Regions from separate parts of the Homo sapiens genome. Here all the other regions are linked to region 2. Evidence: promoter capture Hi-C in 16 types of primary human blood cells and fetal thymus (Javierre and others, 2016). All regions are on one chromosome and are shown on one strand. Each heading gives the region's core, a stretch centred on a gene start or on the middle of the fragment in contact. The rest is flanking DNA. Distances are from core to core; before and after follow the strand shown.

Region 1 (2,700 bases), core at 185-2,684, 1.7 Mb after region 2:
ACCTGCATTGTCTAATACATCAGCCACTAGCCCTACTAGCTATTGAGCACTTGAAATGTAGCTAGTGCAACTGAAGAACTGAATTTTACATGTTATTTATTTTAATTAATTTAAATTTAAATAGCCACATGGGCCTAGTGGCTATGGTATTGAACAGTGTAGGGCTAGCACAGAGTAGATGGCCATTGAATATTTTTGAACAAAGATTACAAGGGAAAGACAGTCATGACAGACCGTTAGGACATGATAGAATGCTATGGGTATAAGCAACATAATTTCATATCGACCTCTCCTGGCTCCTCACTTCACATCCCCTCAACTTTACACTACCAGTGCCTTTGTCTTAGTCCATTTTGTGCTGCTGTAACAGAATACTACAGACTGGGTAATTTATTATGAACAGAAATGTATTTGGCTCATGGTTCTGGAGACTGGGAAGTCCAAGATCGAGAGGCTGCATCTGGTGAGAGCCTTCTTGCTGCATTATGACATGGTGGAAGACATCACATGGTGAGAATGCAGGAGTAGTGAGGGAAGGGGACAAACCTATCCTTCTATCAGGAACCCACTCCCACAATAACATCATTAATCCATGCACGAGATCAGAGCCCTCATGATCTAATCACCTCTTAAAGGTCCCATCTCTCAACACTGTTACAAGGGGAATTCAGTTTCCAGCACATGAACTTTGGGGGACATGTTCAAACCACGGCAGCCTGTGGCTCTGCCTTATTTAAATATAATCCTAGTTTTTGGCTCTTTATGGCCTGAGTTGGTTGTTCTCTCCTGGACTTGCCCAGATTGATAACACCCCTTCTGTGACATGGGCTGGTCTGAAGAGCCCTCTGGAGAAGAGAGCTGTTCTCATCTAGTTTAGTCTGGCCTGAGCAGAGAGCACTCTGTCATTGGGAGGCTTGGACTTCATCATAGAGGACCCATGTGATCTGAATTTGTCTGCATGGCAGGCTGCCAAATCCCTCTTAAAAGTGACAGTTAAAGCTGGCTGTACTGTGAAAACACCCCAGGAGGAAAAGAAGCCACAGTATTGGTAGTCTTATTGCTGTTCCTGGAAACCATGCAAACCCCAGTCAGATGACTTCCAGCCCTGGCACCAGAGATATTGGATCAGTGTCTGAGAAGGAAGGAGGAATGGACACAGGCCCAGGCAGAAGGGGGCTGGGCTGGGCCAGGCCAGGGCCCCACCAGGCAGGCAGAAAAGGCTGGGCCTGACACCGAGGAGCAGGCCTGAGGGAAAGTAAAGGCTAGGGAAGAATAGTCCTTTCCAAAAGACTTTCCAAAATGTTCATTAAAATAAAAAGTTTAGGCCAGGCCTGGTGGCTCACACCTGTAATCTCAACAATTTGGGAGGTTAAGGTGGGAGGATCACTTGAGGCCAGGAATTTGAGACCGGTCTGGGCAACATAAAAAGACTCAGGTCTCTACAGAAGTTTTTTTTGTTTTATTTTTATTTTTATTTTTTTTTGAGACGGAGTCTCGCTCTATCGCCCAGGCTGGAGTGCAGTGGTGCAATCTCGTCTCACTGCAAGCTCTGCCTCCCGGATTGATGCCATTCTCCTGCCTCAGACTCCCGAGTAGCTGGGACTACAGGCATCTGCCACCACACCCAGCTAATTTCTTTCTTTTTTTTGTATTTTTAGTAGAGACAGAGTTTCACTGTGTTAGCCAGGGTGGTCTCGATCTCCTGACCTTGCGATCCACCCACCTCGACCTCCCAAAGTGCTGGGATTACAGGTGTGAGCCACCACACCTGGCCCAGAAGTTATTTTTTTTTTAAAGTTTTTTAAAAAAGATCCAAGCCAAATGTTATAAATGAGCAAGTGAAAGGGCAGGTTAGAGAGCAGGTTGTACACATAATCCCAATTTTGTAAAATAAATATGTTCCAGCTTGTATCATATAGTGGGAGCTAATGAATGCTTTAACCTATGTGTGAGGACCTGTAAGTATATTTGTAGCAGTTTTTCACACATTGTAAATCGTGTGAGGTTCTTTGAAGATTGGGGAGCAGAGTTCATGGTACAGAAAGACATCTTGCACTTGCTAGTCCTCTGTCTGGAAATCTCCTCCCCAGATGTTTTCATGCCTTGCTTCTTCCAGTGCCACTTACCTGAGAGGACTTCTACACCATCCTTTCTACACCAGCACCTCCATCATGCTCTTTTTCTTGTAATACTTGAATCTTTTTCATAGCCCTTATCATTACTGACATTATATTACATATCCATTTGTTGCATTTTATTTGTGCATGAAAGTAGACTTTGTTCTTCTTGACTGTTGTATCCCCAGTGTCTAAGGCCTGGCACATTGGCAGGGGCTCAATAAATCTGTTGAATGACTAAAATGTAACAATGGTGTCCATTCTTCTCTCCCTAGCTCAGAGTGCCTGAAGTTCAAGTACAGCCCTGCCTATGCCCATGAAGCCTCCAGAGGTCCCCTAAGAGCTCTAAGCAGCTTTCAAATTTTTTTGACCTCATAAAGAAGTACATTCATTCTCCACGGTGCATATGTACGTATATATAGGCCAAAGACAAAATTACAACAAATGTAGTTGAGTGATCTTATTGGCTTTTATTAGCACTTCTAGAATCAGGCAACACCTAATTCTATAAAACAGAATGTTCCAATGAGCTGAACAGAGGACATGGGCTTTATAGGTAGAAAAGAGCTGGAAAAAAAAAGAG
Region 2 (2,700 bases), core at 145-2,644:
ATAAGCATATATGATACACAAAATTGTTATTATATATATAACTTTTGTATCTCATTACATATACATGTATCTCTCTCATTACATATATAACTGTATATGTTGCTATATAGTCCCATGCAATATTTAGTGGGCTGAGGTGAAAAATAGACACATATATGTTATATATGTAATGACAGAGACATATATGTGTAATGAGATTATATATATTATATATGTAATGAGGGAGATATATGTAATGAGAGATATATATTTATTCAATGAGAAATACAAAATTATAATGTATATTCATTATGTATTATAAGTATATAATGCTATGTATCAGTATTTGATTTCACTTTATTAAAAGAGTTGATTATATCTGAACGTTTATTTATTTGTTACTGACTGTCATCCTCCATCAGAATATATGCTCTCTGAAGTTGAGCTTCTTGTTTACTTTGCTCACCACTGTATCCCCAGTGCCTAAGTAACAGTGCCCGGCTCAGAGTAGAGACTCAATAAACATTTACCAGATGAATGATAGAAACAGATTTTTTGAGGCAAAGTTTTTCATGTTGCCATATAGTCCCATGCAATATTTTGGACATACTTATACTAAAAAATTATTATCTGAAATTCAAATGTAGGCCGGGCACGGTGGCTCACGCCTGTAATCCTAGCATTTTGGAAGGATCGCTTGATCCTTCCAGCAGGTTGTCCCGGGAACGCGCAGCCCAAGGTGGACGCACAGACCCGCGTACAGAGATTTTTTATTGTCATGACTGGGGGTGGTGGCACTACTGGCATTTAGTGTGGAGAGGCCAGATATGCTGCTAAACATCTTACAATGCAAAGGGCAGCCCCTCAAAGGCAAAGAATTATCTGGTCTAAAATGTCAATAGCGTGGAGGCTGAGAAAAACTGAACTAGATGGCTATGAACTTTCAGGGTCCCTACCTAGTACACAGGCAGCGCCTAGAATTGCTAAGTTCATCTTCCGTTTGGAAAGGCAGCATGGGGTTAGTGAGAGGAAGGCGCCCGGGGCTGGTGGCTGGCTTTAAAGGCCTACGTGCAAATCTTCTTGACGCTGATAACGGGATGCGAGAGAGCCAGGTAGGTTACCTATTGCAGCAGGTCAAGTGATGATGTCGAAAAGGATGCGTGTGCCGGACACTGTGGAAGGTAAAGCGCTCCGCACAGCCCGCCTAAGTGCGCCCGGGACAGAGCCATCCCCCAGGTGCTACCAAACAAATCCTCCAGCTGCTGGTACGGGGAAGGTGTTCAGTGACACACCGGAAGCAGCCTAGTGGCTGAGGCGTCCTTCTCCCTACCAACGGGTTGCGAAGGAAGTAGTTGCTGTAGCCGCGCCCTGTGCGCCTGCGCGGAGGCGTCGGCTGCTGACGTGTAGCTGGGGCCAGACGGGACTAGCCGGGCGCGCGGCTGAGTGCTGCAGAATCGCTGGGGTGGCAGAGCCGCCAGCGAGGCTGGGGATGGGGGCGCCGCTGCTCTCTCCCGGCTGGGGAGCCGGGGCTGCCGGCCGGCGCTGGTGGATGCTGCTGGCGCCCCTGCTGCCGGCGCTGCTGCTGGTGCGGCCCGCGGGGGCCCTGGTGGAGGGGCTCTACTGCGGCACGCGGGACTGCTACGAGGTGCTGGGCGTGAGCCGCTCGGCGGGCAAGGCGGAGATCGCGCGGGCCTACCGCCAGCTGGCCCGGCGCTACCACCCTGACCGCTACCGGCCCCAGCCCGGAGACGAGGGCCCCGGGCGGACGCCGCAGAGCGCCGAGGAGGCTTTCCTGCTGGTGGCAACCGCCTACGAGACACTCAAGGTGAGGCCTGCGGGCGTGGAGGGGCTTCGAAGACTGGCCGCGGGAAGCCCACGGCGCCTTCCGACCCCGGTCCGCGGAGCGTGGGCCTCTGTGACCCCGAAACTGAGCACAGCCACCACCGCGACCTTTAAGATACTCACGTTTCCCACGTGGCCCTGTGAAAGAGCCGAGTCGGCCCCACGGGGCCTTGGGGGGCACAGCTAGCCTCCTTGCCCTCTTCCTTTTTGTGACATTGTTATGCAAAACTTTGGCCATCTTACGATTTCGTGAAAATATTTTAATAACGTGCATTTCACATTCGAAAAGCAGGGTGATCATTATTAGTAGGATCTGGGGTAGCCCACAACAGGGAAAGTCTCGAATATCAAGTGACAACTGTGATCGCATCAGTTTGATATGACAGAAAATTGGTTTCTGGAAATAGTGTTAATGGTGACGCTTAGTTTGGGTTTAAGGAACTAAGAAAACACTGAGAAGAACAATGAACACCAGTCAAAAGGCTGGATGTGAGTCTTTGCTGTGACACCCCTGTATGACCTTGGATAGTGACTTATTATGTTGAAATAGCTGTTTCTTCATATGCAAAATTAAGGCCATGATACCTCCTCTCAGAGTTATTATGGGGATTAAATGATAAGTGTGCGAACCGCCCCCCTTTCCATAGGATCCATAAATAGGTGCTTAATGACTTGGGTACAAAACTCTGAGAATTTCTAGTAGGAAATATTTTGTGAATATGTATTTGTATTTCATTTGACAGGTTTTATTGAGTCTTGTGGGGATGAGAGATTTAGCCCGATGCTGTTTTCTTCTACTACTGCAAAAAATCAAACCATCTAGGACATCACGAAGTATAAATCGTACTTGATGGTGGTATTACTGCTTGAAGGGCCCCA
Region 3 (2,700 bases), core at 102-2,601, 1.1 Mb after region 2:
GACATCATTGGCTGAATTAAATTGTCCACACAATTTTGTCTCTGTTGGGGATTGTGCCTTCTCACTTGCCCCCCTTGTTTGATACAGCCCTCTGTGGCTTGCGACATGTCATCCTGAATGCTCTCTGAAAACGTCCTTTGTCCTCACCAGCCGTCCACTTCAGAAGTGGTGGTGTTATTCTGAGGCAGGGCTTGGGATGCCATATAGAATAAAGCTATGATTGTACTAAAAACCACCAGAGGATAAGCGGCTAACACAAACATGAAGAAGGCCTAAGCACATGCTGTACCAGGGGAAAGAATGAGCGAATGATGCATTGAGACTGCTTTGTTTCTGAGGTCTGGGTGCTCACAGGCAGCCCCAATACGCTTGCTAGTGAGGTCGATAGGATTTGTTTGGTAAGCGTACTAAATTCTGGGGCCCAAAGCCCTGTCTCCTGAAAGGTGCCAGCCTAAGTGTCTAAGATTCCTTATGAATTGGGAGGGCTCCATGCTGTGTTCTTGGGTTCTGGTGGCATTGGGGACCTCCCTCGCCCCTCATGCACACACATACATCTACTATCTTCCTCAGAGCTCAACCCTAGAAATCCAAGCTTCCCTCCATAAGTTCCAACAAACACCACAGCCTTCTGCTCTGATGGAGAAACGTTACACGTTTCCTCCTTACCACCATGCTGCTTTTAAAACTTTTAGTAGCCTGTAATCCCAGCACTTTGGGAGGCCAAGGCAGGCAGATCACTTGAGGTCATGAGTTTGAGACCAGCCTGGACAACATGGTGAAACCCTGTCTCTACTAAAAATACAAAAATTAGCCGGGCATGGTGGCACACACCTGTAATCCCAGCTACTGTGGAGGCTGAGGCAGGAGAATCGCTTGAACCTGGGAGGCGGAGGTTGCAGTGAGCTGAGATTGCGCCACTGCACTCCAGCCTGGGCGACAGAGCAAGGCCCTGTCTCCAAGAAAAAAAAAAAAAAAAAACAAAACCTTTTAGTAGAAGCAAAGTCACATGCTCTGGGACACTTATATTATTTCAGTGACAATTTCCCACCACAAGGAACACTGAAATACCACAGGAAATGGTGAATATGAATGGGCAGGGCTGGGCTAAATTTCATCGTGGAAACTTTCTACCAAAATACTTTCCATACAAATTCACTTTCTTTAGTTTTGATGACTACCCACTGGATATTGTGGCCAGCTGCTATCGACCAACCAGGAAACTGGAAAATAAATAAATAAACTGTAATCAACTATTTCATATGGCCTTTTAGGAACTCTGGGTCTGGGTCCTTTTTTTGGTGGGAGCATAGAAAAGTGGTACTCCAATCTAAACTGAGCAAATGGAGGACTTTGGAGGTCAATACACACACACACACACACACACACATATACACACATATATATGTACACACACATATATATGTATATATATATATATTTTTTTTTATTTTGAGACAAGGTCTCCTTCTGTTGCCCAGGCTGAAGTACAGTGGTGCAATCTCAGCTCATTGCACCCTCAACCTCCCAGGCTCAAGCAATCCTTCCACCTCAGCCTCTTGGGTAGCTGGGACTACAGGTATGTGCCACCATGCCGGACTAATTTTTACATTTTTTATAGAGATGGGGCTCTCACTATGTTGCCCAAGCTGGTCTTGAACTTATGGGCTCAAGTGATCCTCCCACCTTGGCCTCCCAAAGTGCTGGGATTACAGGTGTGAGGCACCCTACCTGGTGTGTATGTGTGTGTATATATATGTATATTCAACCAGACCCTACTCAGAATAGTAAAGCATATTTAATTACAAAAACTCTTTATTATTTCATAAGAATAGTAGAGAAAATCTGACAGAAAGGGAAAGGAAGGTAGGTAATTAACATTTAGGGAGCACCTATTTTATGCCAGCACTTTGCTAGGACTATGACATAAAGAATGCTATATAACTCTCACAACCATCTCATAAGGTATTATTACCTGCTCTCCATTCTCCTCCTTTTTAGGTTAGGAACAGGTTCACTGAGGTTAGTAACTTGCTCATGGTCACCCACTTGTAGTGACAAAGCCGAATTCAAATGTGGTTCTTTTTTCACTTTCCCCTGGTGTACTAAAGAGAAAGCTTGTATAGAGTCTTAATCCATACGGATGTCCATTATATTTAAGGCAGCCTGGTTGTTAAAATAAGTAGCACCATTCAATAAGAAAAACCGATGTTATACATCTATAGATGTATATACTCATTTCTAGAAATACTCATTTCTAGTTATATTGTGCTATTCATTTTCATGCTAATTCAGAAGAACAGATAATAGGGTCTGTAGTAGTTGTAAGCAGCCCTTGAATGTGAAAGTGTTAACAATTTTAATCCAACTCCAAGAGGACCAGAACTTGGCATTCCTTAGATGCAGCATTTAAAATTGTTCCCAGTGCCCTTTGAATGCTACTTTTCCCAGCCAAGGCAGGCTTATGTGGAGGAGATAAAGATGATAGCTTGAGGACTAAGGGTCCAACCCTATATAAATTACATTGGGGGAAATAGGGGAAGGTCTTTGAAGCTCAGAGTCTCTGACTGATATTTTGGGTAGATTTCAACCCTCTGCATTCTCTTCTATTTGTTTCTAGAGAAAACTGTGGTAGAGGCCTTAGTGAATCCCAGAGTCAACATCTGTCATCACCTTTTAGCAGGTAAGGCTAGGCAAACCTTT
Region 4 (2,700 bases), core at 153-2,652, 1.1 Mb after region 2:
ATTGTTGTAAATGTTTTAAAACTTTATAAAAATGCTGACATAATATATACATATAAATACTATATACATATATACACCATATATATATATATATAGAGAGAGAGAGAGCTATTTATCTATCTATATATATATACATAGTCATCTCTTGGTACATGTGGGAGATTGATTCAAGGAGCCTCTCGTATACCAAAATCCGAGTATATTCAAGTCTGTTAGTCAGCCCTGAAGAACTCACGTATAGAAGTCAGCCCTCTGTATATACACGCGGGTTTTGCATACTATGAACACTGTAGCATCAATCTGCAGTTGGTTGTAAAACAATCCCTGTATAAGTGGACTTACATGGTTCAAGCCCATGATGTTCAAGGGTCAACCGTATATCCTTTTGCAATTTGCTTTCTTATTAAGGGCTTTCTACGTGCAAGGCACCATGTTGGGCAGTGTGGATGAAAAGACAAGTTAGATAACATTTTGCATTGACATTAGCTAATATTGCCTCTTAGAAGAGCTTAAAATGCAGTATTTTACAGGTATTTTCCCTTTATTTTTAAATTTTAAAAAAATCTTTAGTTTTGTATTGGGCAGCCCCTGAATCAGAATAGGTTCAGAGAGGCCCCCTCACCATTGTTGGAAAGGAAGCTTCCTGCTCAGTATCTACCTTCTAATACTTAAATGTGGGACTGTAGCTCTGAATTAATAACATGCTTGTCTCTCTTGCTGCCACTTATGTAGCTTCTTTTTAGTATGTAGTTCTCCTAGAACATTTTAAAAGAAATCATCTATTTTGATAAATTTTTTTATTTTATCTTTAATTTTTTTGGGACAGGGTCTCGCTGTGTCACCTAGTCTGGAATGCAGTGGTGCAATCTTGGCTCTCTGCAGCCTCCGCCTTCTGGGTTCAAGCGATTCTTCTGCTTCAGCCTCCCTAGTAGCTGGGATTACAGGTATGCAACACCACGTCCAGCTAGTTTTTGTATTTGTTAGTAGAGATGGAATTTCACCATGTTGGCCAAGCTGGTCTTGAACTCTCAACCTCAGGTGATCTGCCTGCCTCAGCCTCCCAAAGGGCTGGGATTACAGGCGTGAGCCACCATGCCCGGCTTTATTTTGAGAAATCTTTTAGTAATTGGCAACAGAAATGATAAGTTTTGATCATCCATTTCTAACAGTTGTCAGTCAACACTAGTCCTGTGTCTGCATATGAAGATTATTCACCTTTATAAGATTTCCAAAATAAATATGATGATGTTTCTCAAAATTAAGAATTGTTTGGAATTTAGGTTTACAACTTAAACACAACCAAACCCACAAAACAGACACATTCTAGCTAATACATTTTATGTGACAATTGATGTTTTGGCAAATGCAATCGCTATTCACAGTGTAAAGAGGATGCCCTTAGCGACGGCATGCATTTCTTTGGGTTTGCTTGCCTATATCACTGCATGCCCCATGGTACCTCAGTTCTCCCACCAGATTCCTCTATTCAAAAGATTATAAACTCTTCATTTATATAGCACAGTATGAAGTCATTTGGGCTTCATTAGGCTCAGTATTGCCCATAGACCTAAGCAAACAGGAGGGACTCTTGCCGCCACATTTTAGAGGATCCAGTACACACACGCGAGCACATAAATTTGTTAAAGGACAGATGAGAACTTCTGTGCTTGGGATCTGGCATTTGGCTCTGGCACAGAACAACCTGGAACTTTGAACGTCTGCTTCTGTGACTAACACCATTTATACCCTGTGGAAACACCTCTTGCCCTGTGTTCTTGAAAGAAAGGCGGCTGGGTTGGACTGCTGTGAAGGTTTACGAGTTATGCCTCTGTCGAGGTCAGAAATGGACAGTGCATTTTAGTGCCGGGAATTGTTGAGCAGCAGAACTTAGGTAAGAGAAAAGGCAAATTATTAACTTCCAAATACCTCCTCTCAGATCAGAGGAATTCAGTGGAATTGTGCACAACCGAGAATTGTTTCCCTTTAGTGAGAGTCCATTTTCCTGTTTTCCTTATTCTCATTTGTGATTCTGGAGCTCGTCAGAATTAGTTCACTATTCACAACAGTTGCACTGTTGGCTAAGGAACTATTTCTGCAATATTAAATATTTGATAATTCCTGTTATATTTGTGTGTATATATATATAGGTTTATAAGTAACATAAGTGAAGCTTGATACTGATTCTCTAGTAACAAATATATTGTATTAAGATAATACAATTTGCAATACATATAATTTATGACAAAGTTAAAAATATCCTACTATTCTGTGATAATTGATCTTATGTATTATGGACTGAATGTGTATGGGATCTTTGGGGTGTCAATTTTCTGGCCAGAAACCTCTGTGGTCACAGCACCTTTGCCCGAGTTCTTGTCCTGTGTCCAGGTAGAAGAAGGTACACAGACAAGTGAAAGGTGAACAAGACAAAGAGCTTTATTTAGTGTTACAACAGCTTGGAGGAGACCCAGAGTGGGCAGCTCCTCTCTGTAGGCAGGTCATGTGTCCAGTGTTCAGTTCTCAGTAGAGAGGAGGCCCTGGAGAGGGTGGCTCCCCTCTGCAGACAGGTTGTCTCTGCAGCTCTCAGTGGAGAAGGTAGCTTCTCATGCCTGTAATCCCAGCACTTTGGGAGGCCGAGGTGGGTGGATCAGCTAAGGTCAGGAGTTCGAGACCAGCCTGGCCAACCTGGTGAAACCCCGT

Evidence for each region. Contacts are between HindIII fragments. The CHiCAGO score rates a contact against its expected background, and 5 or more counts as called.
Region 1: a contact is called between a fragment that was not itself captured here and the fragment with the promoter of DNAJC25 in region 2, in 2 of 17 cell types (monocytes and total B cells). The highest score is 8.0, in monocytes.
Region 3: a fragment that was not itself captured here is called in contact with the fragment with the promoter of DNAJC25 in region 2 in 3 of 17 cell types (fetal thymus, total CD4 T cells and non-activated CD4 T cells); the score reaches 5.6 in fetal thymus.
Region 4: a fragment that was not itself captured here is called in contact with the fragment with the promoter of DNAJC25 in region 2 in 1 of 17 cell types (naive CD4 T cells); the score reaches 5.6 in naive CD4 T cells.

The regions. Positions count from the first base shown.
Region 1 is chr9:113,342,991-113,345,690 of GRCh38, forward strand. No RefSeq gene overlaps it. Among named protein-coding and RNA genes, the nearest start is that of WDR31, 4.1 kb to the left of the region's middle. The HindIII fragment of the contact is 4,375 bases long and covers 1-2,700 here.
Region 2 is chr9:111,629,940-111,632,639 of GRCh38, forward strand. It overlaps DNAJC25 (DnaJ heat shock protein family (Hsp40) member C25), which reads left to right and starts at 1,395. Exons shown (of 4, transcript NM_001015882.3): 1 at 1,395-1,804. The coding sequence starts at 1,469. DNAJC25-GNG10 (DNAJC25-GNG10 readthrough) reads left to right here and starts at 1,395. Exons shown (of 3, transcript NM_004125.4): 1 at 1,395-1,804. The coding sequence starts at 1,469. It overlaps LOC107987116 (a long non-coding RNA gene), which reads right to left and starts at 1,264. Exons shown (of 2, transcript XR_001746897.2): 1 at 1,101-1,264. RefSeq lists enhancers at 1,259-1,348, 2,079-2,128 and a silencer at 1,439-1,728. The HindIII fragment of the contact is 9,325 bases long and covers 1-2,700 here.
Region 3 is chr9:112,747,108-112,749,807 of GRCh38, forward strand. SNX30-DT (SNX30 divergent transcript) reads right to left here. Exons shown (of 1, transcript NR_186503.1): 1 at 1,777-2,700. It also overlaps a transcript of SNX30 not described here. Among named protein-coding and RNA genes, the nearest start is that of SNX30-DT, 2.1 kb to the right of the region's middle. The HindIII fragment of the contact is 1,522 bases long and covers 591-2,112 here.
Region 4 is chr9:112,730,347-112,733,046 of GRCh38, forward strand. No RefSeq gene overlaps it. Among named protein-coding and RNA genes, the nearest start is that of INIP, 14 kb to the left of the region's middle. The HindIII fragment of the contact is 1,531 bases long and covers 638-2,168 here.